Regions from separate parts of the Homo sapiens genome. Here all the other regions are linked to region 1. Evidence: promoter capture Hi-C in 16 types of primary human blood cells and fetal thymus (Javierre and others, 2016). All regions are on one chromosome and are shown on one strand. Each heading gives the region's core, a stretch centred on a gene start or on the middle of the fragment in contact. The rest is flanking DNA. Distances are from core to core; before and after follow the strand shown.

Evidence for each region. Contacts are between HindIII fragments. The CHiCAGO score rates a contact against its expected background, and 5 or more counts as called.
Region 2: a fragment that was not itself captured here is called in contact with the fragment with the promoter of ARAP2 in region 1 in 4 of 17 cell types (M0 macrophages, M2 macrophages, total CD4 T cells and 1 more); the score reaches 9.0 in M0 macrophages.
Region 3: a contact is called between a fragment that was not itself captured here and the fragment with the promoter of ARAP2 in region 1, in 1 of 17 cell types (M2 macrophages). The highest score is 6.9, in M2 macrophages.
Region 4: a contact is called between a fragment that was not itself captured here and the fragment with the promoter of ARAP2 in region 1, in 4 of 17 cell types (M0 macrophages, fetal thymus, M2 macrophages and 1 more). The highest score is 8.7, in M0 macrophages.
Region 5: a contact is called between a fragment that was not itself captured here and the fragment with the promoter of ARAP2 in region 1, in 1 of 17 cell types (M2 macrophages). The highest score is 5.4, in M2 macrophages.
Region 6: a contact is called between a fragment that was not itself captured here and the fragment with the promoter of ARAP2 in region 1, in 1 of 17 cell types (M0 macrophages). The highest score is 8.9, in M0 macrophages.
Region 7: a fragment that was not itself captured here is called in contact with the fragment with the promoter of ARAP2 in region 1 in 1 of 17 cell types (M0 macrophages); the score reaches 6.0 in M0 macrophages.

Annotation. Positions count from the first base shown.
Region 1 is chr4:36,242,291-36,245,815 of GRCh38, reverse strand. ARAP2 (ArfGAP with RhoGAP domain, ankyrin repeat and PH domain 2) reads left to right here and starts at 1,302. Exons shown (of 33, transcript NM_015230.4): 1 at 1,302-1,637. LOC439933 (a long non-coding RNA gene) reads right to left here and starts at 1,700. Exons shown (of 5, transcript NR_122079.1): 1 at 1,605-1,700; 2 at 506-644. RefSeq lists a silencer at 927-1,506. The HindIII fragment of the contact is 5,605 bases long and covers 1-2,439 here.
Region 2 is chr4:37,779,192-37,782,726 of GRCh38, reverse strand. No RefSeq gene overlaps it. Among named protein-coding and RNA genes, the nearest start is that of PGM2, 46 kb to the left of the region's middle. The HindIII fragment of the contact is 2,395 bases long and covers 393-2,787 here.
Region 3 is chr4:37,643,066-37,646,324 of GRCh38, reverse strand. The region is part of intron 3 of RELL1 (RELT like 1); the gene reads left to right. Among named protein-coding and RNA genes, the nearest start is that of RELL1, 42 kb to the left of the region's middle. The HindIII fragment of the contact is 5,400 bases long and covers 1-3,259 here.
Region 4 is chr4:37,687,974-37,691,190 of GRCh38, reverse strand. No RefSeq gene overlaps it. Among named protein-coding and RNA genes, the nearest start is that of RELL1, 3.2 kb to the right of the region's middle. The HindIII fragment of the contact is 987 bases long and covers 1,132-2,118 here.
Region 5 is chr4:37,624,666-37,627,911 of GRCh38, reverse strand. All of the region lies in intron 6 of RELL1 (RELT like 1), which reads left to right. Among named protein-coding and RNA genes, the nearest start is that of RELL1, 60 kb to the left of the region's middle. The HindIII fragment of the contact is 2,019 bases long and covers 511-2,529 here.
Region 6 is chr4:37,745,468-37,749,080 of GRCh38, reverse strand. No RefSeq gene overlaps it. Among named protein-coding and RNA genes, the nearest start is that of RELL1, 61 kb to the right of the region's middle. The HindIII fragment of the contact is 3,020 bases long and covers 62-3,081 here.
Region 7 is chr4:37,762,799-37,766,183 of GRCh38, reverse strand. It overlaps LOC105374406 (a long non-coding RNA gene), which reads right to left. Exons shown (of 3, transcript XR_001741505.2): 3 at 2,359-3,385. Among named protein-coding and RNA genes, the nearest start is that of PGM2, 62 kb to the left of the region's middle. The HindIII fragment of the contact is 3,026 bases long and covers 131-3,156 here.

The DNA of each region.
Region 1 (3,525 bases), core at 53-2,552:
GTCAATAAAACTTTCCTGGTGGAAATGAGGTCGGCTATGAGGTATTAAGTTCAAAAGGAACTGGATATTTGGTGTCTCTAGTAAGACAGAGCTGCTTCAGAGTCTCCCCAGGGAAAGACGGTGCTTTGGGCAGGTAGTTAGTGTGGGTGAAGGTGATGACTGAAGAATCCTAAGGGCCCAGGCTTGTGGGAAGCCTCTCTCTTTCCGCACTTCACCAATTATCTCATTTTCATAAGGTCTGCGCTTTCCTTAATTGCTTCACTTCCATCAACAGGAACAGGGGAAAGATAAATACATTTCACCTTTTAATGAAGAGAATTTCAGGTAGTCTGTGGGAGATGTTTATAAAAAAAAAAAAAAAAGCTGGTAGGGGGCAGTGTCTCACGCCTGTAATCCCAGCACTTTGGGAGGCCGAGGCAGGTGGATCACTTGAGGTCAGGAGTTTGAGACCAGCCTGGGCAACAAGGCGAAACTCCGTCTATACCAAAAATACAAAAAAAATTACCTTGGCTGATGGTGCGCGCCTGTAATCCCAGCTACCTGGGAGGCTGACGTGGGAGGATAGCTTGGACCCAGAGGCGGAGGCGCAATGAGCTGAGATTGCCTCACTACACTCCAGCCTGGGTGACAAAGTGAGACCCTGTCTAAAAAAAAAAAAAAAAAGTAGTTGGTCTGTGAACTCACTTGCAAATAACTGGATTTTACGGACGCTTAGATATTTGGAGGTCCACAAGGGTTCTTTGGGATCCCCTATTTTCCTTCGCTGCCTCCTTTGTCAGAGTCCAACTCAAAGGGGAAATGCCCCTCTGGGATCTAACCGCCACAGGTGCAAGAAGGAGCAAATTTACATAGAAGCAGCCTGGGGAAAATAGTGCCCTAGATGAGTCTTCAGTTTGGGAAACGCTGAGCTAACACTTTAAGTACTTGGAAGAGTAATACTAATAATCAGTCGTGGCGAGGTTCCGCCCATTTGACATTCAACCCCCCATGAGTGCGCACAGACAAACCCACTGGCCAGGAGGAGCCAACACAAGGTCCTGGGCATCTCCGTCCCGGGAAGGTGGGTAATGCCCCTGTCGCTCTGGGCTCCAGGGCGCGCCCCCGCAGCTTCCCCAGCGGGGTCTGACGCCTCCGGGCCGAGGTGCGCCAGGTGGCGAGGGTGCCAGGCGCGGCCAAGTCGCGGCGGTCTGAGTCAGTCACCCAACTATGCTGCGGAACCAGGGAGGCCGGCTGGGCCGCCCCCGCCGTTGAGCTCCGGCTTCCCCCGCGCGGGGCGCCTGCTCCCCGCCCCCGCGGGCGGAGAGGAAGCGGCGGCCGAGGCGAGGCGCGGGAGCACCTGAGCAAGGCGCGGGCGCCGGGCTCGGCGTTTCCGGAGCTGAGCGCGGGTCCGCGGCCCGCGCTCCCCGCCTCCAGGTGCGGCGGCCGCGACACGCCGGCCCCACTAACAGCGCCGCCCGCGCGGCCGCCGCCAGGCAGCAGAGGCGACTGCGGACAGCCGGCGGGGACCGGGAAAGAGGAGGCCTGGCGCCTCCGGCAGAGGGGCGAGGACCGAGCGCCCAAGGCTGGGAGAGACGCCGGCGCTGAGCTTCCCAGCGCCGCCTCACCTCGCTTTTCGAACTCCGCGACCCGAGCGCAAGGCGAGTACCCGGGGCCTCGGGAAGGCTGGGCCGGGATGGCCCACGCGGGGGTGGGAGGACCCTGTCTGGAGGGGCTGGGGCTTTTCGACACTTCACCGGGTAAATTTCCTCAGCGCAAAGTGCTCGGCTCTGGTGTCCGCCCCTTGGATTTCGCTCCCGCGTGTGGGCGTCTGAAAGGAAACCAGAAGCCGGTAAGTGATCCAAGAACTCCACTTCTGGGATTTGACCCGGGAGGGTGAGGATCCGGATAGACAGCTGGACACTCCCTCCATTCCTCTCCCCTACCTTTAAATAAGAAGAAGCTGTAGTGAGTTTCAGGCACCAAGTTATTTACTCGGTAGAGATCATGAATTTGCCCGGGTGTCTGTGCTGCCCCGCACCCTGCTTGTTAACCACGTTAAGACGACTGGCCTGTTAATTAACTTTAATTACGATCATTTGGCTTCCACCTGCCTGAACCCGATACCTTACACGGGAACCTGTATGATGTGAGTTTACCAGATTGATCTTTCTTGTTTACTTTTGGAGACAGTTCTCTTGGGAGAAGTGGTGTCCATCCTATTTAATAAAGTAAGTTTTACTTTATCTAATTCTGGCTTGTTTTCTTAAACACCTCCTACCTTGAGGTGATCTGGAGTTATTTTGATTTGGGGAAAGGGTTCGTGGATTATATAGCCTTTGATAATTAGAGGAAAACACAAGAAAATAAGCTAATTTGTGTGGAATAATGACATCTTAGGGTGTTGTAAGTAGGTATCCTGATAGCAAATTCTTTTTTTTTTTTTTTTTTTTTTTGCAAGCTTGTCCTTGAAGTAGGCTGTTCAGTAGAATACAGCCTTCGGTTTAAAAAAAATCAAGAAGTGTATTGAAAATAAGCTATTTTTAAAAGTACATTTAATAGGATGTCATTGTTATTACTCATAATAGTATTGTACTTACAAGCTCAGTATTGATTTATCTGCACTTAAGCACTCTACACCCCCACAGGCCCATGGAACTTTGCCCGTAAGTAATTGGAAGATAAAAAGCAAGCTAACTTTTTTTAAGGAAAAAAAGAGAAATACCTTTAAACTCTTTTTTTTTTAACTCTTATTTATGACTTCCATACACTTACAGGAGAAATATTGAGAGAAAATACTCATGACATTTTTTGTCCAACAACGTTTAAAGAAGAAAAAAAAGTGGGTCATGGAACTAGGCTAGGGTTAAGTGCAAATATCTTCCTGGCTTCTTTCTAAACATATTTAACACATACACATTTAAGGTGGTTCCTAACACGAAGAGGGTTTTATATAGATTTGTCAGTACTCAAAGATTTATTTGAATTAAAATGTACCTAGAGGGTAAGTGAGAGAGCTTGTTAAAACGTATTTATATGGGTGTGTGCTTGTGTTTGTATTTTTTCCTTCGTCTGTAAACCTGTCAGATTTTATGTGGCTTGTCTGTAAAAGGAGAAGCTGATGGTACGTTTAAAAACAAATTCTTGTTTTTCTAATATCACTGCAAGCTCCTTGCAGTGTAAGGCTCATGGATATGCAATAATATCAGATCCAACTATTCTTGGATACTGTGGAGAAGTATAGAACTCAGATTATAATGAATTACAGTTTTCTTAAGAACTTTAACGCATTGAAACTATGAAGTTTTAAAGTCTACGTAGAATTCTGGGTTATAGACTTCATGATATATGAGAAGTTTTTTGTTGTTGTTGTTGTTTCGTTTTGTTACTTTCTAACCCACCTCCCTGCAACTGTGAGAAAGTTTGGTGAAAGTGACTATAAAAATGCTAAGTATAAATAATAGTCATTGCTTTAATAGTTTTCTTTTAGCATACATTTCCACCTGTCCTCATTTATTTATTGATACATTTCTTGGATACAATCTTTGC
Region 2 (3,535 bases), core at 341-2,840, 1.5 Mb before region 1:
TTTCTTTTTTTTTGAGATGGAGTTTTGCTCTTGTTGCTCAGGCTGGAGTGCGATGGTGCGATCTTGGCTCACCACAACCTCCACCTCCTGGGTTCAAGCAATTCTCCTGCCTCAGCCTCCTGAGTAGGTAGGATTACAGGCATGCACCACCACGTCCAGCTAATTTTGTATTTTTGGTAGAGATGGAGTTTCTCCATGTTGGTCAGGCTGGTCTTGAACTCCCGAACTCAGGTGATCCACCTGCCTCAGTCTCCCAAATTACTGGGATTACAGGTGTGAGCCACCGTGTCTGGCCAAACCTCTTTTTCTTTATAAATTACCCAGTCTTGGGTATGTGTTTATCAGCAGCATGAAAATGGACTAACACATTAGCTGACTTTGGAATCAAAGCTTGAGTCACATGCTTTCACCATACTTACACTATAAAGAAAAATCCAGATGGATATAACGCACACTAAAAAGTGGAGAGGATTTCTTCTTGGTAATGGAAAGTTTTTAAAAGTAAAAAAACTTTTACTTTATTCTTACCTGTATTTTTTACTTTTTCTATAGTGAAGCCCTATTAAATGATAAAAGTTCATGAACAATATTCAATTCACTTGTTCTCCCACGACCTACTTTGCAGACTGAAGATAGAGTTCATTATCAAAAGCAACCTGGGTGATTCTAGCAGTGAACCCCAACCTGAGCCAGCTCCTGGACTCACAGATCTGCTATTTTTCACTGCAAGACAGGAACTAGTAGGGTGACAGTATTGGGGATAAAGTAATCCAGCTGAGGCCGGGCGCAGTGGCTCACACCTGTAATCCCAGCACTTTGGGAGGCTGAGGCGGGCAGATCACAAGGTCAGGAGATCGAGACCATCCTGGCTAACACAGTGAAAACCCGTCTCTACTAAAAATACAAAAAATTAGCCAGGCGTGGTGGCGGGCGCCTGTAGTCCCAGCTGCTTGTGAGGCTGAGGCAAGAGAATGGTGTGAACCCAGGAGGCGGAGCTTGCAGTGAGCCGAGATCGCGCCACTGCACTCCAGCCTGGGAGACAGAGCGAGACTCCGTCTCAAAAGAAAAAAAAAAAAAAATTAATCCAGCCGAATTGAGGGATACACCAACTGACTCATTGTGTTACAATGCTAGTTCAGAAACTCCCAGGCTACCCTTGTTCTATCATTCTCTTTGGAATGATCAGTTTTGTGATTTGTACACAAATCATAGTCCTAATACAGTCTGTGTTTTGCTAACACAGTCCTAGTTTTAGCTAACCACACAGTATCATTTCTGCATAGAAGTAAGAATTCTCATTTTTCCAATGCTTAATTGATTCTTAAGGGAAGAGTACTTCATGTGATAGGATAATTTGGTTTAGATTTATCATGCTGAGCATCTGATAAGACAAATTAGTAACTCTGCCTGTTTGAAAGAATTTAGAAACACAACCAGTTTAGCCACCCCATGTTGTTCAGCCAGTATACAAACCCGTCTTATGTTCTTGGATTTTTCAGAACCTCTCCCTATAGAAAAAAACGCCCTTTTTCTTTGCTTGTTAAGTTCTTTTATCTTGGCACATGTGCTCAGAAATTGTAGGTAATATCTAAAAGGGTAAAGAAATATAAACAAAGCATCCTTCCAAACAAATCTTCATCAAGTAAAGTTTTATTTGATGTTGAGAAGTCTATTTGTCTAGCAGGAACAATGAAGATCAATGGCCCATCCGGGGGCACTCTCTCCCCAGGAAATTGCAGTGGTTTTCAGCCCAGCCTCTTTCTTCTCTTTGCCTGCGTCTCAGCTGGGACAGCTTTGAAAATCTAGAAGCAGCCATAAAAGGACCCACACAGGAAGTTTTCATATTCTACTGAGAAAGGGGACATAGTAAAAAACAGGTCATTTATTTTTACATGCTCCTTTGCCTTTTTCTCCTCTCCTGCTTATTGTCCCATCACAAAAATTGTGAAAAGGAGTAAAATCTTGTCACCTTAAGATCCACCTAAATGTAAAATGTAGAGCAATTGTAGTTACCACTGTTCTGTTCAGAAGCAAACAAGATAATTCACATATGTAAGGTAATATGGTTTGGCTGTGTCCCCACCGAAATCTCATCTTGAACTGTAGATCCCATAATCCCCCTGTGTTGTGGGATGGACTCAGTGGGTGGTAATTGAACCATGGGGGTGGTTATCTTCATGCTGTTCACATGATAGTAAGTGAGTTCTCACAAGATCTGATGGTTTTACAAGGGGTTTTTCCCCCCTTTACTCTGTATTTCTCCTGGCTGCCGCCATGTGAAGAAGGACGTGTTTGCTTCTCCTTCTGCCATGACTGTAAGTTTCCTGAGGCCTCCCCAGCCCTAAGGAACGTGAGTCCATTAAACCTCTTTCCTTTATAAATTACCCAGTCTCAGGTATATCTTTATTAGCAGCATGAGAACAGACTAATACATAAGGGATGTTGTACACATCAGGGACTATAAATCTGTACAGTTTATGTTAGCATGTAAGTGCACAAGCAGTGGTGTAGGTTCTTGGTTTTGTTGTGTGCTGTTTAGTTCAGCCTGATGAAAAATGATATCACTGCATTTGCATAGTGCACAAACTTTCTTTGAGCAAGAACTTCCTTTTCCCTTGGATGGGCCATGGGAGATACTACAAAGGACAAAACAAGCCTTGTGAACCTAGTGAGATGATAGACAGCATTCTTTAGGAGGTTACAAAAGAAGGTCATGAAGAACAACTATTGTCCCTGACCCAAATCCCCTAATAAGGTTTCTAGGAGACTTTAATTCAGCATTAAGCTTCCACAGGACATACTTTAAGAAAGGGTAGAACTGAATGAAGGTCTACTCAGGCTAGCTTTCTCTTTTCTGGCAGCATCATCAGGCACATTGAATTTCACATTTTTTTTTATTTTTTAGTTTTTTGAGACAGAGCCTTGTTCTGTCACACAGGCTGGAGTGCAGTGGCATGATCTTGGCTCACTGCAGCCTCTGCTTCCTGGGTTCAAGAAATTCTCCTGCCTCAGCCTCTTGAGTAGCTGAGATTACAGTCGCACGCCATCATGCCTGGCTAATTTTTGTATTTTTAATAGAGAGGGGGTGTCGCCATGTTGGTCAGGCTGGACTTGAACTCTTGACCTCAGGTAATACACCTGCCTTGGCCTCCCAAAGTGCTAGGATTACAGGCATGAGCCACCGTGCCCAGCTGAACTTCACATATTTTTAAATGTAAAAAACATTTTTAAATGGAAGTCAGTCATGATTTTCTTCACAAACATTTCATTTCACTGCAATTCTAGCTTTTCTCCCCATTAAGAATAGAGAGTGTGTTAGTCCATTTTGTGTTTCTATAAAGGAATACCAGAGACTGGGTAATTTGTTTTTAAAAAAGAAGTTTATTTGTCTCATGGCTCTGCAGGCTGTAGAAGCATGGCATCAGCATCTGCTTTGCTTCAGGGGAGGCCTCAGGAAGCTTTTACTCATGGAAGAAGGTGAAGGGAAAGCAAGTGTGTCACATGAAGAGAGAGGGTGCGAGAGAGAGAGAGAGAG
Region 3 (3,259 bases), core at 518-3,017, 1.4 Mb before region 1:
ACCCTGAAATGTATTCTAAATTATCATCTTAAATGGAAGATTAATTTAATCTTGAGTAAAGAAACTTTACGGTTATTGTTCTGAGCACTGGTTATTCCCTCCATAGCACACCATGCCCTCAGTGATATTTGAGGTGTGTGGGATTCCTTGCCCACTTACTCAATAGCTGTGGATTCTCACACTGTGAATTCTCATTACAATTTAAAAGAAAATGTTTCCCCTGGGCTTTGTCTGTGCTTTAGCCAGCATGGGCTCGTGGACTGATAGAGCTCAGCCTGATAGAGCTGAGCCATTTGTCTAAAGGTTGAAATACACCACACTCATCAGTAAATACCTGCTCCTCTGCCCTCAGGCCCTGCCCTGGGCACCCCACACTCCCAGATCCTCACTACTCCACAAGAGCACCTGCCTGCCCAGCCTGTTTGTCAGTTTGACTCTCTTCAACGGTTTTTGACTTAGAGAAACAGCAGTTTCGTATGGTTGAGCATAATTTTCATTGCTGTTTTTAGAATGTGCTTTATGCTTTTGGCATAGATCTGGGTGCTTTATATACGTAATCTCATTTAATCTTCAAAACATCCCTATAAAGTTAGTTCAGTTACACCCATTTTACAGATAAAGAAAGAAGGTTCCAAGTAATTAAATTCACATGGTTAGTGAGCAGCCCAGCTCTGTCTGTCTGGTTTCAAATTCAGCATCCTTTTCAACCACACGATATTGTCCCTCCTGTCTTCTAATATGCAGTTGTCAATTTCTGCAGTCTATAAAGTCAGACAACCAAACTTACTCGGATGATGTTTAAAATAACAAAAAAGACCAGAATACTTGGATTTTGATCTCTGTCTTCCAGAGACCTTCCTTCAGGGCACAGTAGTTGGTGATACTGTTCTTGAGTACTCAATCATGGATGTTTCTTTTATATGAAAAAAAAGTGCTTTTGAATTTGCCCAAGCAATGCATGACTATGTCCTTGGCCTAGAAGATGTACCCATTCTGGAAGTGTGCAGTGTAAGGCATGGATGACCGCCTCACTGCCTCTGTGCCTTTCACATTCCAGACTGCCTTTCGTGGCTGTGGGGAGCTTGCAGGCCTTTGGGACCCGGGCTTCTAAAAGCTGGAGCAGTTGCCAAATTTGTGATGATGCATGAAATGGGTACTGGCAGTTGAATCAGTCGAAATAAGTAAACTGTGAGAACCTTGCCAGGGGTTAAAGTTCTCACGTATCGACGTCATAGCACTCATGAGGGTTTGCTATGTGCTGGGCCTGTTCTGTGGGCTTTCCAGGGATGCTGTGATCTCGACATTTTCTTCCCATGTTATAAAGTGAAGCCCACCGTACTTAACTAAGTTGCCAGTGTTGCACCGCTGGAAAGTGGCGGAGCTGGGATTGGAGCTCAGGTGTTCTGGTTCCATAGTCTGTTATTTTAACCACTTACTGTAGTACCTCTGTCCAGGTGGCATGAAAGAGGGATGGAAAACTTATTCCTTTCAAAGAGGGACAGTATATAGCTGGGGTAGTTTGTAGAAATCCTTAAGCATTAACTCAATAAATTCTTCAAAGTAGCGGCCGGGCGTGCTGGCTCATGCCTGTAATCCCAGCACTTTGGGAGGCTAAGGTAGGAGGATCACTTGAGGTCAGGAGTTCGAGACCAGCCTGGCCAACGTGGTGAAACCCCGTCTCTACTAAAAATGTAAAAATTAGCTGGGCGTGGTGGTGCATGTCTGTAATCTACTTGGGAGGCTGAGGCAGGAGAATCACTTGAACCCGGGAGGCAGAGGCTGCAGTGAGCCAAGATTGCACTGTCACTGCACTCCAGCCTGGGCGACAGAGTGAGACTCTGTCTCAAAAATAAATAAATAAATAAATAAATAAATAAATAAATAAAAATAAAAATAAAAGTACCAGATGACGTAGGCCCTGTTACCACCCTATTTTGTAGATTAGGAAACAGCGACCCAGAGGATAAGACACTTGTTCAAAGTCACACAAGCAGGTATGGCAGGACGGTGCTGGCAGTAAGCACTTCTCTTAATTACAGCAGAGAGGGTGTTTGGGGTCCTTGGAGGAGGCGTATTATATAATTTCCTCACTTCCCACACTCATGGGCGAATAGGGCTGTTTTGGTTTTTTTTTCTTTTTCTTTTTAAATGATGTTGTTTTCCTTTTGGAAAGTAGCCTTTGTGTTTTTACTGTGCTTAGCACCAGTAGGTACCACTGAGCAGTCAATACCGGAGGTGCCATTTTTCTCCTCTCTCCTCTGCTCCCCAGTTCTCTTTGCCTTCTATCTTATTCTCAACCCCGGGTCCCCTCTTCTCCTGTCCATGCCTTCATCTGTGTACCTGCGGTTTCTCCAGGGGCCCGTGAGGACAGCTGGTGACTCCAATCCTTTGCGCAGCCCTTGGTTCCCTTCCTGGGCCCTCAGGTAATACCTGATGTTGCTGCACACCCCTTTCCAGCTGTGGCCTCTTCAGCTTCCAGCCTGCACCAAAACCACAGCCTGGTGATAAGATGCAGCCTTGATCTCTTACCAGTTTATAACCTAGCATGTTTGAGTTCGGCTTTGAGACTGAAATCCTCTATTTTGTGGACTAAATGCATTTTTAAAAATATTTTTGTCTCAATGATTAACATAACTTGAACTTAGTACCAATTTGGACTTCTCTGTTGATATTTTCTGTCTTTGATAAATTGGAATTAATATAAATTTTGCTTTCTAGTTTTAAAAGTGATACGTGTACCATGACTTTTCCTTTACGTTAAAAAAGGAATAAAATTAAGCACAATCTCTCTATTACCCTTTTCCCACGTGTGTTTAGGTTTTCTTTTCCTGGATTCATGCATCCGTAAACATTTGCAATCATGATATATGAATGGTTTCTGCTTCGCATTTTAAGTTTGGCAAATGGGGTGATATTTGAACTGTACTCATGGTAACATTCTTGTTTATGGTTTAAACACATTATGTCTTTAATGTTGGAAGTCAATTTTAATTTAGATAAATATCTCTTGAAGGATGGATTATCAGCTGACCTGCTGGGCAAACACACTTTGTTTGTTTGGTTGTCTCCATCCTCACACAACACTTCTGACAAAGATGTGGGTTTTTTCCATACTTTGCAGTTCTCCAAATCCCCGAACCCTGCAATTTAATACAGTTCTGACTCTGTCTACCTAGAGTTAGCGTCAGATCCCAAAAGACTGCCCCTACTTGGGATGCCAGTTGGAAGCCAGGGCTCTGGTACTTCTGACCTATAATCT
Region 4 (3,217 bases), core at 376-2,875, 1.4 Mb before region 1:
ATGTATGACTGTGCAGTCTGCAGTCTGTACCATGCAAATTCTTTTACTGTACATACATTCATACACATTTCTCATCTCTCCATCAATCCCAGTCCTTTAAGACCCAGCTCAAGATGCACCTCTTTCATGAAACCTTGCTCAAGAGCTTCCAGTACAATTCTTTTGATCTTCTTGGGATTTCTCCAGCTCAGTGGTTATCAACTGGGTGTGATTTTGTTCCCTAGAGTCATTTGGTAATATCTGGAGATATGTTTGGTTGTCACAGCTGGGGTGGGAGCTACTGGCATGTAGTCAGTAAAGGTCAAGGATTGTAGCTAGACATCTTACAGTGCACACAACAGTCCCCCACAACAAAGAATTACTGGACCAACAATGTCCACAGTGTTGAGAAACCTTGCAGTCTAGCCTGACTTAGCACCCCTATCATTTGATTACTCATTATGGTATAGAATCTTAGGGCTGGATGGGAACCTTTAGAAATCATCCTATCATCCTTGTATTTTATAGGTTGGAAGACCAACCCAAAAGAAGCTGCAGAGAGTAGAGTGAGCGAATCTTTGGCAGGGCTGTGTCCCCTGACCCCTGGGCTGTTGGCCATTTCTTTTTTTTTTTTTTTTGAGTTGGAGTCTTGCTCTGTTGCCCAGGCTGGAGTGCAGTGGCGCCATCTCGGCTCACTGCAAGCTCCGCCTCCCGGGTTCACGCCATTCTCCTGCCTCAGCCTCCCAAGTAGCTGGGACTACAGATGCCTGCCACCACGCCCGGCTAATTTTTTGTATTTTTAGTAGAGACGGGGTTTCACCGTGTTAGCCAGGATGGTCTCGATCTCCTGACCTCGTGATCCACCTGCCTCAGTCTCCCAAAGTGCTGGGATTACAGGCGTGAGCCACCGCGCCTGGCCAGCCATTTCTGTTCACTTATGCAACAGTTCCCTTTCTCCCAGGTAGGCTTAAAACTTTAAAAGCAAAGTTAGAATCTTTTTCTTAAGCTTGTAGTGACTCTCCCCTCCAACCCCTCATGCTCAGCCCAGTACTAGGAACACAGCACATATCTGTTGTCATATCAAAATAGCCCCAGATTGTGTAAAATATTTTATTCCCCTTCAGACATATTTTTTAAAAAGAAATGTAAGCTTATCTCCTGCATATAACCTCTCAAAAAGAGAGATGAGTACATCTAAATCACAAAAGAAATCCTACAGAGGCCTTCTGCGGAAGCATGTTCAACATTAATTAGAGTAAATACCAGCCTAGTGAGGCTTATGCATTTAAATGATGGTGATGAAAATCACCAGCTTAGCAGTTCAGAGGAAAACAGGAAAGGTTTCTACTAAGGGGAATGATTAACTGAATCCTTACAGAGAAACTGAAAACAATGAAAATCAGAAAGGACATCACATTGTATATGTTTGTAAATTTGATCCTATACACTCTGATTTTTAATCCATTCCCATCAATCAATAAATTATTCTCACTGAGGAAAAATATGTAAGCAATTGTTGAAACAGAGTTCAAAAAGGCTAGGTTAAACATGCAATGAAGGAATATGAGAACAATACTTTAGATTGCAAAAGAGGAGCTAGTTGGCTGGAGTTCTGCATTTCAGAGGCAGAATAGTGCAAGAGGAGGTTGCAAGTGTGGGCCCAAGGGAGCTGATCCTGGATTTGCATCCTGGTGGTGCCAGGGAGAGGCCATGTGACTCAGGTAAATGCCCTAATCCCTCAGCTTTGAAGTGAGGAGTGTTAACAATGATTCCCTAAATATAAAATCATTGTGAGGAATTGATGAAAGAATACAAAAAGAGTTCCCACCATAGGATTGGGCTAAATCTAAGGGCAGAATGAGGATTATTGTTTTTAATTAATGACAGTTATTCTTAAGAATTATTAAAACTCTACTTTTGTTTCTGAAAAAATGGAAATACAACTTAGTTTTAAGATTTCCATTTTATGTCCTCAGAAGAAATATGACATTCCCTTCATAATAGAGAATAGAAGTTCCATTACATTGGGGTTCTTACTTTTAAAATAAAACAGTGGATTTTTAGATATACATATGTAGAAGCTATTTAAATTGTATGAATAAATCTGTAGGGTTAAGGATATGGAAAATAATTTAAGCTTGATTTTCTTTCTTTCCTCTCTCCTTCCCTTCTTCACTTTCCTCCGTCCCTCCCCCTCTCTTCCTCCTACCCTTCCTTCATTCCTTTAACAAGACATACAAATGCATGTATACGGGGTACGTGAAAGTAAGACATTTATAGAGAGTGTGTCAAGCAGGTGTTATGGAAAGTTTAGGAAGAGAAATTTCAGAGCCCTGGGTTTCAACCCTGGCTCATAGTAGATATGTCAGGCAGATCACTTAACCATCTCTCATCTGTAAAACAAAGGGCCTGGTAGATAATGGGTAAGGCTTAAGTACTAGATTTTTATATTTGAAGAGCCATAACAGATATACAATTCAAATGTGTTGTTAAAAATGATCCCGTCTTTCTTTTTTTTTTTTCTTTTTTTCTTTTGAGACGGAGTCTCGCTCTGTTGCCCAGGCTGCAGTGCAGTGGCACAATCTCGGCTCACTGCAAGTTCCGCCTCCCGGGTTCACGCCATTCTCCTGCCTCAGCCTCCCGAGTAGCTGGGACTACAGGCGCCCGCCACCACGCCTGGCTACTTTTTTGTATTTTTAGTACAGATGGGGTTTCACCGTGTTAGCCAGGATGGTCTACGATCTCCTGACCTCGTGATCTGCCTGCTTCGGCCTCCCAAAGTGCTGGGATTACAGGCTTGAGCTACTGCGCCCAGCCAAAAACGATCCCATCTTTTTAATACTAAGTCCAATCTGTGGGAAAAGAGTGAAACATGATTCAATTTTGAAATGACATTTTACATTTTGATTAGATTTCTTGATTCAAGCATTTTGTTACATTCTAACTTACAAAACCAGAGCTGGCTTTATAAGTGTGTGACCTGTGCAACTGTGTGTTTAGGAGGGCTCCACAATCGATTTAATGTTGTGTTGTTGCCATCTTGAAATTCTTAACGATTTTTGAACAGAAGGCCCTGCCTTTTCATTTTGCATTGTGCCCTGCAAATTTTATAGCTGGTTCTGGCTACAACTTCTAATTTATAGTTTAATTTCTAGGTCCGGGATTCTCTCCTGTTTTAGTTAGAAATCCACATGGATCGCTTTCCTCCGCACACATTCTCAATGTTTATGTTGATATA
Region 5 (3,246 bases), core at 271-2,770, 1.4 Mb before region 1:
TGCAGCTAGTGAAGCAGGAGAGGAGTGCTATGTGTCTCTTCTACAATCTGATACAGTCTTTAGAGTTGTATTTTTTCCTGAAAGAGGTTTTTGCTCAAATTTGGATTTTTAGCCAAACAATTTTACTGCAATGTTTTGTTTTATTGTAGAACAGACTCAAATATTCAAATACAAATGCATATCCACTTATTGGTTAGGTTTCTTTTTTTATTTCTTTTGTTTAAGGTGTTTGTTACCAGAAACTAAACTTATATTCTAAATAGAATGTTATCAAGACTGTGGCAGGATTTCTCTCTCTCCCTTCTGGTTCCTTCTCCCTTTAAAACCCCAAATCTGATGTTGGGCATGGCCTCCCCATTCGTCTAACCCTGCTTTGTTGGTCTGAGTTCTTGTTTGTGGCTACATCTAACTTGCCCTCTTGCCCTCTGCCTGATTTATTTTGGCAATGCGGTTAAAATGGTCTTTTTTCTGCAGAAAATGTGTTTTGGTTTCTCCTGAGAAGAATAAGCTTTTGTTCTTCAAAGTTAAATAAATTGAATTGCTTTCAGCCTCCAAATGCCACTGCCTTGTCTTCATTGTCACTGGTCTTTGGCTTTTTAAAAATGATCCTGTCCTAAGCATTCTGTGTCGCATGTTTCTGAAGTCTGCCCTCTTTTGTTCCATTCGCTGATAGTGTCCTGTTGGAAACATTGATTTAGTAAGTTTACATAACCATACTTTAAAATTTTTTATTGAAAATTAATCAGATTTTAATGGACACATGAAAGTTGCATATATTTATCATGTGCAATGTAATGTTTTCAAATGTGTGTACACTGCGATGGCTAAATTGAGCTAATGAACGTATGCATTGCCACACATACTTATAATTTTTTTGCGTGGTGAGAACACTCCAAATCTACTCTCTTAGCAATTTTTAAGAATATGATACATTGTTATTAACTGCAGTCACCATGTTGTACAATAGATCTCTTGAAATTATTTATCCCCTCTAACTAAAATTTTGTGTCTTTTGACCAACCCCTCCCCCGCCCCTACCTCTAACCACCTTTCTTCTCTCTGCTTCTATGAGTTCAACTTTTTTTAGATTCCACATGTAAGTGAGATGACGTGGTATTTGTCGTTCTGTGCCTGGCTTATTTCACTCAATGTAATGTGCTCCAGGTTTATCCATTTTATCTTCAATGACAGGATTTCCTTCTTTTTTTCTGGCCGAACAGTGTTTCATTATGTATCTATACTACATTTTATTCATTCATATGTTCAGGGACTCTTAGGAAGATTCCATATCTTGGCTATTGGGATAATGCAGCAGTGGACATGGCAGTACAGATATCTCTTTGACATACTGATTTCAGTACCTCTGGATATGTACTGAGAAGTGGGATTGTTGGATCATATGGTAGTTCTATTTTTAATTTGTTTGTTTGTTTTCTGAGACAGAGTCTCACTCTCGCCCAGGTTGCAATGCAGTGGGACAATCTCGGCTCACTGCAGCCTCTGCCTCCCGGGTTCAGACGATTCTCCTGCCACAGCCTCCTGAGTAGCTGGGATTGCAGATGCAAGCCACCACACCTGGCTAACTTTTGTATTTTTAGGAGAGACAGGGTTTCATCATGTTGGCCAGGCTGATCTTGAACTCCTGATCTCAAGTGATCCACCTGCCTCGGCCTCCCAAAGTGCTTGGATTACAGGTGCAAGCCACTGTGCCCGGTCTATTTTTAATTTTTGTTAGTGACCTGCGTACTGTTTTCCATGATGACTGTAATAATGTATATTCCCACTAACAGTATGCAAGAATTTCTTTTTCTCCACATCCCCATCAGCACTTTTTTTATAATTGTCATTCTAACAGGTGTGAGGTATTATCTCATTATAGTTTTAATTTATATTTCCATGATGATTAGTAATGTTGAGCCTTTTTTTCATATATTTGTTGGCCATTTGTAGGTCTTCTTTTGAGAAATTTCTATTTAGAATCTTTGCCCATTACAATTTTTTTAACATTTTATTTATTTTTATTGACAAAAATTATCTATATTTATTATGTACGACATGTTGTTTTGAAACATGCATACATTATGGAATGGCTAAATTGAGCTGATTGACATATGTATTACATCATATATTTATCATTTTTTTGTGGTGAGGATATTTAAAATCTCTCTTAGCATTTTTCAAGAATACAATACATTGTTATTAACTGTAGCCACCATATTGTGCAATAGATTTCTGATACAGTCTTTAGAGTTGTAATTTTTCCTGAAAGAGGTTTTTGCTCAAATTTGGATTTGATGGCCTATTCCTCCTAATTGAAATTTTATGTCCTTTGACCATCATCTCCCCAACCCTCCCTTCCCATTTTGCCCCATTTTTAAATTGGGTTATTTGTTTTCTTGCTTTTGAGTTGTTTGTGTTTCTTATATATTTTGGATAGTAACCATTTATAAGATGTATGGTTTGCAAATATTTTCTCCCATTTTATAAGTTATCTCTTCACTCTGTTGATTGCTTTGCTCTGCAGAAGCTTTTTAGTTTGATGAAATCCCATTTGTCCATTTTTGTTGCCTGCGCTTTTGGGATCTTATCAAAAAATCATTGTCCAGATCAGTGTCATGGAACTTTCCTCCTATGTGTTTTTCTAGTAGTATTGCAGTATTACAGTAGCATTTCTTTTATCAAAACAAAAATTCATAATATTAGACATCTGTTTTTATTTTTGTTTTATTCAGACTATTGTATTGATTTTTATTTTAGTAATTTATTTCAGTGATTAAAAGCTGGGTTTTAAACTCCTTACTTTTAATTGTGCCACTTAACTACCAATGGTTTTGGGCAAGTTACTTAATGTTTTCAAGCCCCGGTTATTTCATCTTTAAAATGAGATCGTTGCTGGACATACATGATACGATATATGTGTAGTTCATAAGTCAATCCTTGGCACAGAGTATCTGCTAAACATTCACTGCTGTTAACAATTGTCATGGCTGGTGGTCTTAATTATTTATTAGGTCATTTCTGAAGCATCAGCTTTTGGTACTGTGAATTCCTTTTTACATCTTAAGAACATTACAGCTTTGGACTCTCAGGACATCTCAGAAATAGATAGTATTTGTCAAGTCCCTTAGGAATTTGGGCCATTTTCTTGTTTGCATTAAGGAGGCCTTAGAAATAACCATTCCCGGCTGGGCGCGGTGGCTCACGCCTGTAATCCCAGCACTGTGGGAGGCCGAGGTGGGCGGATCA
Region 6 (3,613 bases), core at 322-2,821, 1.5 Mb before region 1:
CTTGACATCCCTCCAACCAATAGTTAGAACTATAATCTAGCTCTACTAGCCTACTAAAGCTTTACAAGTATATATAAATTGTTGCTGATTGTTTAATTTGCATTTCATTTTCGTTTAAATTTGTGGGTTTTTTTCCCTACCTCTGTCATACTTATTCTTGCTGCAATGTGTGCTGATTTGCAATGGACTCCTGGACTGTAATGAAGGTCACAAAAAGATTTATTTCCTATGTGATTTCTGGTTAATTCATTTCTGGATGTTAGAGCCACTTTTATGAGCCACACACAATATGCCATATGGAACATCATTATGTGCTCCCTAGAGCTTCTGTTATTGCCATCTGTCTGTGACTTCCTGTGTGGTTTTTTGGCAGTGGGGGATTCATCTATCATAAATGATTCTATACAGCAAGTTTTGAAAACCCAGTTCTAAACAACATCTGCCTCTGAAGTTAGATGTATATTTTCAAGGCTTACGCATTTGAAGCACATTAATAATGATCCCTATGAGTCCACAGTTGAAGTTACAAGAGTATAATGTAGTCCGTCACCAGGGTAACAGCTAGATACTAGCACTGCCAATACTGCAAATCCCTCCACAAGCAAATCTTTAAAATCTCCCACTTTGAGGACTCTGACACTTTGGTCAAAACCTTGGCATTGTGCCTAAAGTAGTCTTCTGTTCTCAACATCCAGAATTTTCCATCCTTAACAGTAGAAGCTATATTTGTTCATTTTGTTTTTGTGTCTCACTATCTAATACAACATCTAGCACTTTGTAGAAGTTCAATTAATTTGTGTTGACTTGAATTGAAATGTTGAATCGTACCTTGCAAGGTTAGAAACTTGCAATGGTCATATCTCCGTGCAATATCAGTAACCAGATTTTCACGCAATGTGACACTGGCTGCAAAGACGGTGAATTGCTTGTTACATGTTGATATAGTTTGGCTCTGTGCCCCCACCCAAATCTCATGTTGAATTGTAATTCCTAGTGTTGAAGGAGGGGCCTGGTGGGAGGTGACTGGATCATGGGGGCGGACTTCCCCCTTGCTGTTCTTGTGATAGCGAGTGAGTTCTCATGAGGTTTGATTGTTTAAAAATGTGTAGCATTTCCCCCTTTTCTCTCTCTCTCCTGCCAGCCATGTGAAAATGTGCCTGCTTCCTTCCCCTTTGCCTTCTGCCATGATTGTAAGTTTCCTGAGGCCTCCCAGAAGCAGAAGCCTGTACAGCCCACAGAAACATGAGCCAATTAAACCTTTTTCCATTATAAATTACCCAGTCTCAGGTATGTCTGTATAGCAGTGTAAGAACAGACTGATACATATATAGATGGTTGATTATGAATGTATATCAAATACATAGTTATATTATGAGGATGAATGAGATATTCAGAATAAAGCATTTTTAGATCTTTAGATAAATGCGTATTCTATATCACCCAGGATCAGCTGGTGTGGAGTAAAGAGGCTTGACCTCTGAGTGAGATCTCAGTCTGAATCCTAGTTTTTTAAACCCTAAAATAGTAAAAAAGACCACTTACTATCTCAGCTCTATTTTGGTCTCTGTGAAACAACAACAATAACCCTTTCCCTGCTATGCCAAAGAATTGATATAAGAATTGACTGAGATAGTGTACATGACAAAAATTTACAAATGAAAACTCACAAATACAAATATAGAATTTGTTTATTCATCTGCACATTTATGGCCCACCAGGGCAAAGCACTGGGGAATATAGACATGATAAACAAAGGCAACTTATTTATTTGTTTATTTTTGAGATGGAGTTTTGCTCTTGTTGCCCAGGTTGGAGTGCAATGGCATGATCTCGGCTCATTGCAATTTCTGCCTCACAGGTTCAAGCAATTCTCCTGCCTCAGCCTCTCAAGTAGCTGGGATTGCAGGCATGCGCCACCACACCTGGCTAATTTTGTATTTTTAGTAGAGATGGGGTTTCACCATGTTAGCCAGGCTGGTTTCGAACTCCTGACCTCAGGTGATTCACCTGCATTGGCCTCCAAATTTGCTGGGATTACAGGCATGCGCCACCGTGCCTGGCCAAGGCAACTTATTTTTAAAGGCAAACCAATAAGTGACACACAAAGGGAGACTGCAGGAGTAGCCTTCAACTTAAGTGGACATAAGAATCAGGTGGAGGTCATGTTAAACATACAGATTCCTGACACTTACTGGAGGCATTCTACTGTGATAGGTCTGGGATTGAGCATGAGGCTGCAGAGATTTAATAACTTCCCCAGGAGATTCTCCTGCAGGTAGTTAATGGACCAGACTTTGAGAATACTAACTTAGGGCTCAGTAGGGAAGATAGAAAATTAATTAATTAATTAATTAATTATAATTTTAGACCTCCAAAATAGGCCTGCAATAGTTTATTAAGGTGGTATTCACAGACTGTGAGGAAGTGGGAAACCAGTGAGATGACAAGATCAAGGAACGTACAACAATGGTACAATAGGTGTGTTCTCCCTCTTCCCAGATTTTCTGTGCTTGCCACCAGTGACTCTAATTCCAGCTCTTATTTAAGAGTTGGCATATTTGTTAGTTGCCTTTTATCTGTGAAAAAGAAAAAAAAAGCAGTGGCTTATACAAAGTTGAAGTTTATTTCTCTTACTTGAAAACAAGGTCCAGAGATAAATAATCCAGGGCTGGGATGGTGGCTCCACAAAGTTGCTGAGGACCTGCCAAAACTTTCAGTTCATCATCCTATCATCCCCAGTGTGTGGCCCCTCTGCCTCAGGGTCCAAGATGATAACAATAGCACCACCAGTCACAGTATCTTCCCAAGCAGAATTGAGAAAGGGCCAAGGGAGATGCAGCTGACTTTTGAGGAGGCTTCCTGAAAGTTTCCATGCCTCTCTGCTTATATCTCATTGGCCAGCACTTAGTAATATTGACTCAGCTGGATGCAAGGAGGTGTAGAAATGTGTTTCTTATTCTCCAGGAAGCCACATGCCAAAATACAAGGCAGCATTTCAAGTAGTAAGGAATAAAGGAGAGTGAATACTGAGGTAGGCAGCCAGCAAATGCAGGCCCAGATGGGATCCTGAGGTTTGAAGCTTATTTCCCTTGGCCTGGGCCTCTGGTTACAGTGGGTCCAGCCACTGCCTGATGTTGAAGCACCATTAGGACTGGCACAGCAGATGATATGGTTTGAATCGGTGTCCCCACCCAAATCTCATGCTGAATTATAATCCCCAATGTTGAAGGTGAGGCCTGGTGGGAGGTGATTGGATCATGAGGGCAGTTTCTCATGGTTTAACACCATTCCCCTTGCTGTTGTGGCAATAGTGAGTGAGTGAATAATCGTGAGATCTGGTTGTTTGAAAGTGTGTAGCACCTGCCTCCTCTCTCTCTCCCTCCTGCTCCGGCCATGTAAGGTGGACTGCATCCCCTTCACCTTCTGCCATGATGGTAAGTTTCCTGAGACCTCCCCAGAAACCAAGTAAATGCCAGCATTATGCTTCCTGTACGACGTGTGGCATTATGAGCCATTAAACCTCTTTTCTTTATAAATTACCCAGCAATGCGAGAATAGACTAATACAGCAGGGAAAAGTCAGTGGGGCTGGTGGGCAACTGGTAGGAGATTCA
Region 7 (3,385 bases), core at 394-2,893, 1.5 Mb before region 1:
CTTCTTCCAGTCCCAGGCCCCAGGCCTTTTTTACCCTACATGTCCTCTGTGAGTTTAGAAATGTACCCTGTGGTACCTCATCCTCACTGATCCCCTCGTGATAGCAGCAAAGTCACCTGGGAACTAAGCTTGCACTGATGCATGCTTCAACACATATTTGCTTAAGAGCTTAATTTGTATTGCTGAGTGTATTTGTTCAGAGAAAAGCTAAGCTGTTGAAACAAAGAAATCTAAAACTGTAGTGGTTTCAAGAAGGTAGACACTTACAATTTATGACCACCAGTAACTGTTTTGGGTCAGATGAGTCAGAATTTCCACCCTCAGACTGTCTTTCCAATAAGGTAACCTGTACATCCCCTAGTTAAAGTAGTCACATGCCAGTTATTTAGCCATGCACAGAAAATGGGACTCATTTACATGATCTCTAAACTTCATTTTATTTTATTTTATTTTCTTGAGATGGAGTCTCGCTCTGTTACTCAGGTTGGAGTACAGTGGTGTGATCTTGGCTCACTGCAACCTCCGCCACCTGGGTTCAAATGATTCTCCTGCCTCAGCCTCCCTAATAGCTGGGATTACAGGTGTATGCCACCACATCCAGCTAATTTTTGTATTTTTAGTAGAGACGGGGTATCACCATGTTGGCCAAACTGGTCTTGAACTCCTGACTTAAAATGATCCACCTGCCTTGGCCTCACAAAGTGCTGGGATTACAGGCGTGAGCCACCACGCCTGGCCTTAAACTTAAGATAATATTTAGACACAACCTGGGCTGTAATACATCTTAAAACATGTGAACAGTTCCATTATATCCTGCATCCCACATATCCTACTGGTTCCCGGCTCACTTTCCCCCTTCATCCTAGTAAACACCGTATTCTTCTGAGAAATCCACTCCAATGTTTTTCTTGTAGTGGTTGGATCAAAATGTCTACAGTCAAAAAAAGACTATTTTTACCTTAAGACTTAATTCAGTAGCTCTCTGCAACAGTTTTCTCTATCTATTAGAGTTGACAATAAATGTTCATTGTGGTAGAAGTTGCCAACTAAGAGAATGTCAATAATTGTAACTGCTGATTGTTATTAGCTGTAAATGGATCTGGCAAAATGAGCTCATTATCCATAAGAAATGGCATACATGTTGATTGCACACAAAAAGTGTAATGTGCATACAAGACAAAGCATAGAAATCACAATTTTTTTTTTTTTTTTTTTTTTTTTTTTTGAGACGGAGTCTCGCTCTGTCGCCCAGGTCGGACTGCAGACTGCAGTGGCGCAATCTCGGCTCACTGCAAGCTCCGCTTCCCGGGTTCACGCCATTCTCCTGCCTCAGCCTCCCGAGTAGCTGGGACTACAGGCGCCCGCCACCGCGCCCGGCTAATTTTTTGTATTTTTAGTAGAGACGGGGTTTCACCCTGTTAGCCAGGATGGTCTCGATCTCCTGACCTCATGATCCACCCGCCTCGGCCTCCCAAAGTGCTGGGACTACAGGCGTGAGCCACCGCGCCCGGCCAGAAATCACATTTAATCAAGTCTTTATTTTACCATCTGCTTAATTTTTCTCTTAAAAACCTCTGACACATAAACATTTGTGATGGGGGTAGTAGGTGATGCTGCTGTCTGTATTTCTTAGAACACCTGGAGGCCAGAGTTCCTACCCTAATTTCTCAGTGTCACACTAGCAGTTGCATGACACAGAGGTGGACCCATCACCCCCCTCTGCAGCTGGCACTCCTACCCAGGCACAATGTGACTCAGTGTGACCCTGTTCAGGTTGGAGCTATCTTTGGAGACACTGTCCCAGAAACAAATAAAACAATATAGGATGCTACATTGTCCTAGATGTATGAGGAAATTTGTATTCACTAACACATTGCTTATACATTTATTCATTTATTCAGCAAATGTTGATTGTCTACTCGCTCTGTTTTACTCAGTGTATTTGTCAGGATAAAGGTTAGACAGCTATAAGAAAGAAATTTAAAAATGCAGTGGCTTAAGAAAGAAAGAAGCCTTTGCTCTTTCCAATCACAGTCCAGGAAGTCCACGTTGGCAGAGCACCTTGGCTACACCTGTTCATTCAGGATCCTGTTGCCTCTCTATCGCATAGAGTATGTCTTTGCAATGCTTGTGTTTTGTGTAAGTGTTTAAAGGCCGCCTCACTACTCCTTTCCACATAAGAGGATCTGTATTCTCCAACACACTTTGAGAGTGTTTACACTTCGAAAGTGTTTACATTTGGACAGTGTTTACACTTCACTTTGACAAATCAGAAACATGTTAACTTAAGAAATGTCATTAAAATGTTCCCATGAAATTTATTTTTGAATATGTTGTCTTTTAGAAAAGTTTTTAGGCTGGGTGCAGTGGCTCATGACTGTAATCCTAGCACTTTGGGAGACCAAGGTGGGTGGATCACCTGAGCTCAGGAGTTCGAGACCAGCCTGGGCAACATGGCAAAACCCTGTCTCTACAAAAAATACAAAAATTAGCCAGGCAGGGTGGCATGCACCTGTAGTCCCACCTACTCTGGAGGCTGAGGTAGGAGGATCACTTGAGCCTGGGAGGCAGAGGTTGCAGTGAGCTGAGATCACATCAGTGCACTCCAACCTGGGTGACAGAGTGAGATCCTGAGATCCTGTGATCCTGTCTCAAAAAAAAAAAAAAAGAAACAAAGAAAAGTTTTTTTAATGTTTATACTCAAAAAGCAAGCAGTGTAAACAAGTTGTCTGCATTGGAAAGAAAGCCTGTGGAGGCACCAATGTGTATCTAAGCTAATACTGTAACCCCCAGTTCTGCTTGCTGCTGTAACCCCCAGTTCTCTAAGGAAAGGTTTTGCATAGAAGTCCAGACTGCTCTGCTCTACTGTTACTGAGCACGGAGCATTGATCTCATAAATCTTTTTGAAGAATGCTGACCTGGCTTTTACAGTTTTTGACATGCAGTATGGGGGAGAGTCCAACCTCCTTCTATGGACAAGAGAAAATAATCTTGCTAGCTGAGGTCATAGACACACTGCCTGGGGTCAGCAGCAAAGGAGGCAGAGAAAGACTGACCAGCCAGATCTCTCCCGCTATCGTCTCTCTCCCTACTTGCCTTGTTAGAGGAAGTCAATGTTGCATTAACGGTGTGTGTGTGTGTGTGTGATCAGAAGCTTTTTTGATAAGCCTATGCTTTGACATCCTAAACCTCAGAGTTTGACCTTAGGAAGGGGTTCCCAATACTTAGAATAAACCAGCCCTCTTCTGTATGCTCAAAACTACATCAAAAGCTTCCAGAAAGTGGAAAAGCAATTTCTTTTGAACAAAAGAGTTGGATGTGGCACACTCACCCTGTATTAATGAGAATGTGGTCACATGGCCATACCAAGCTGCAAGGGATGCTG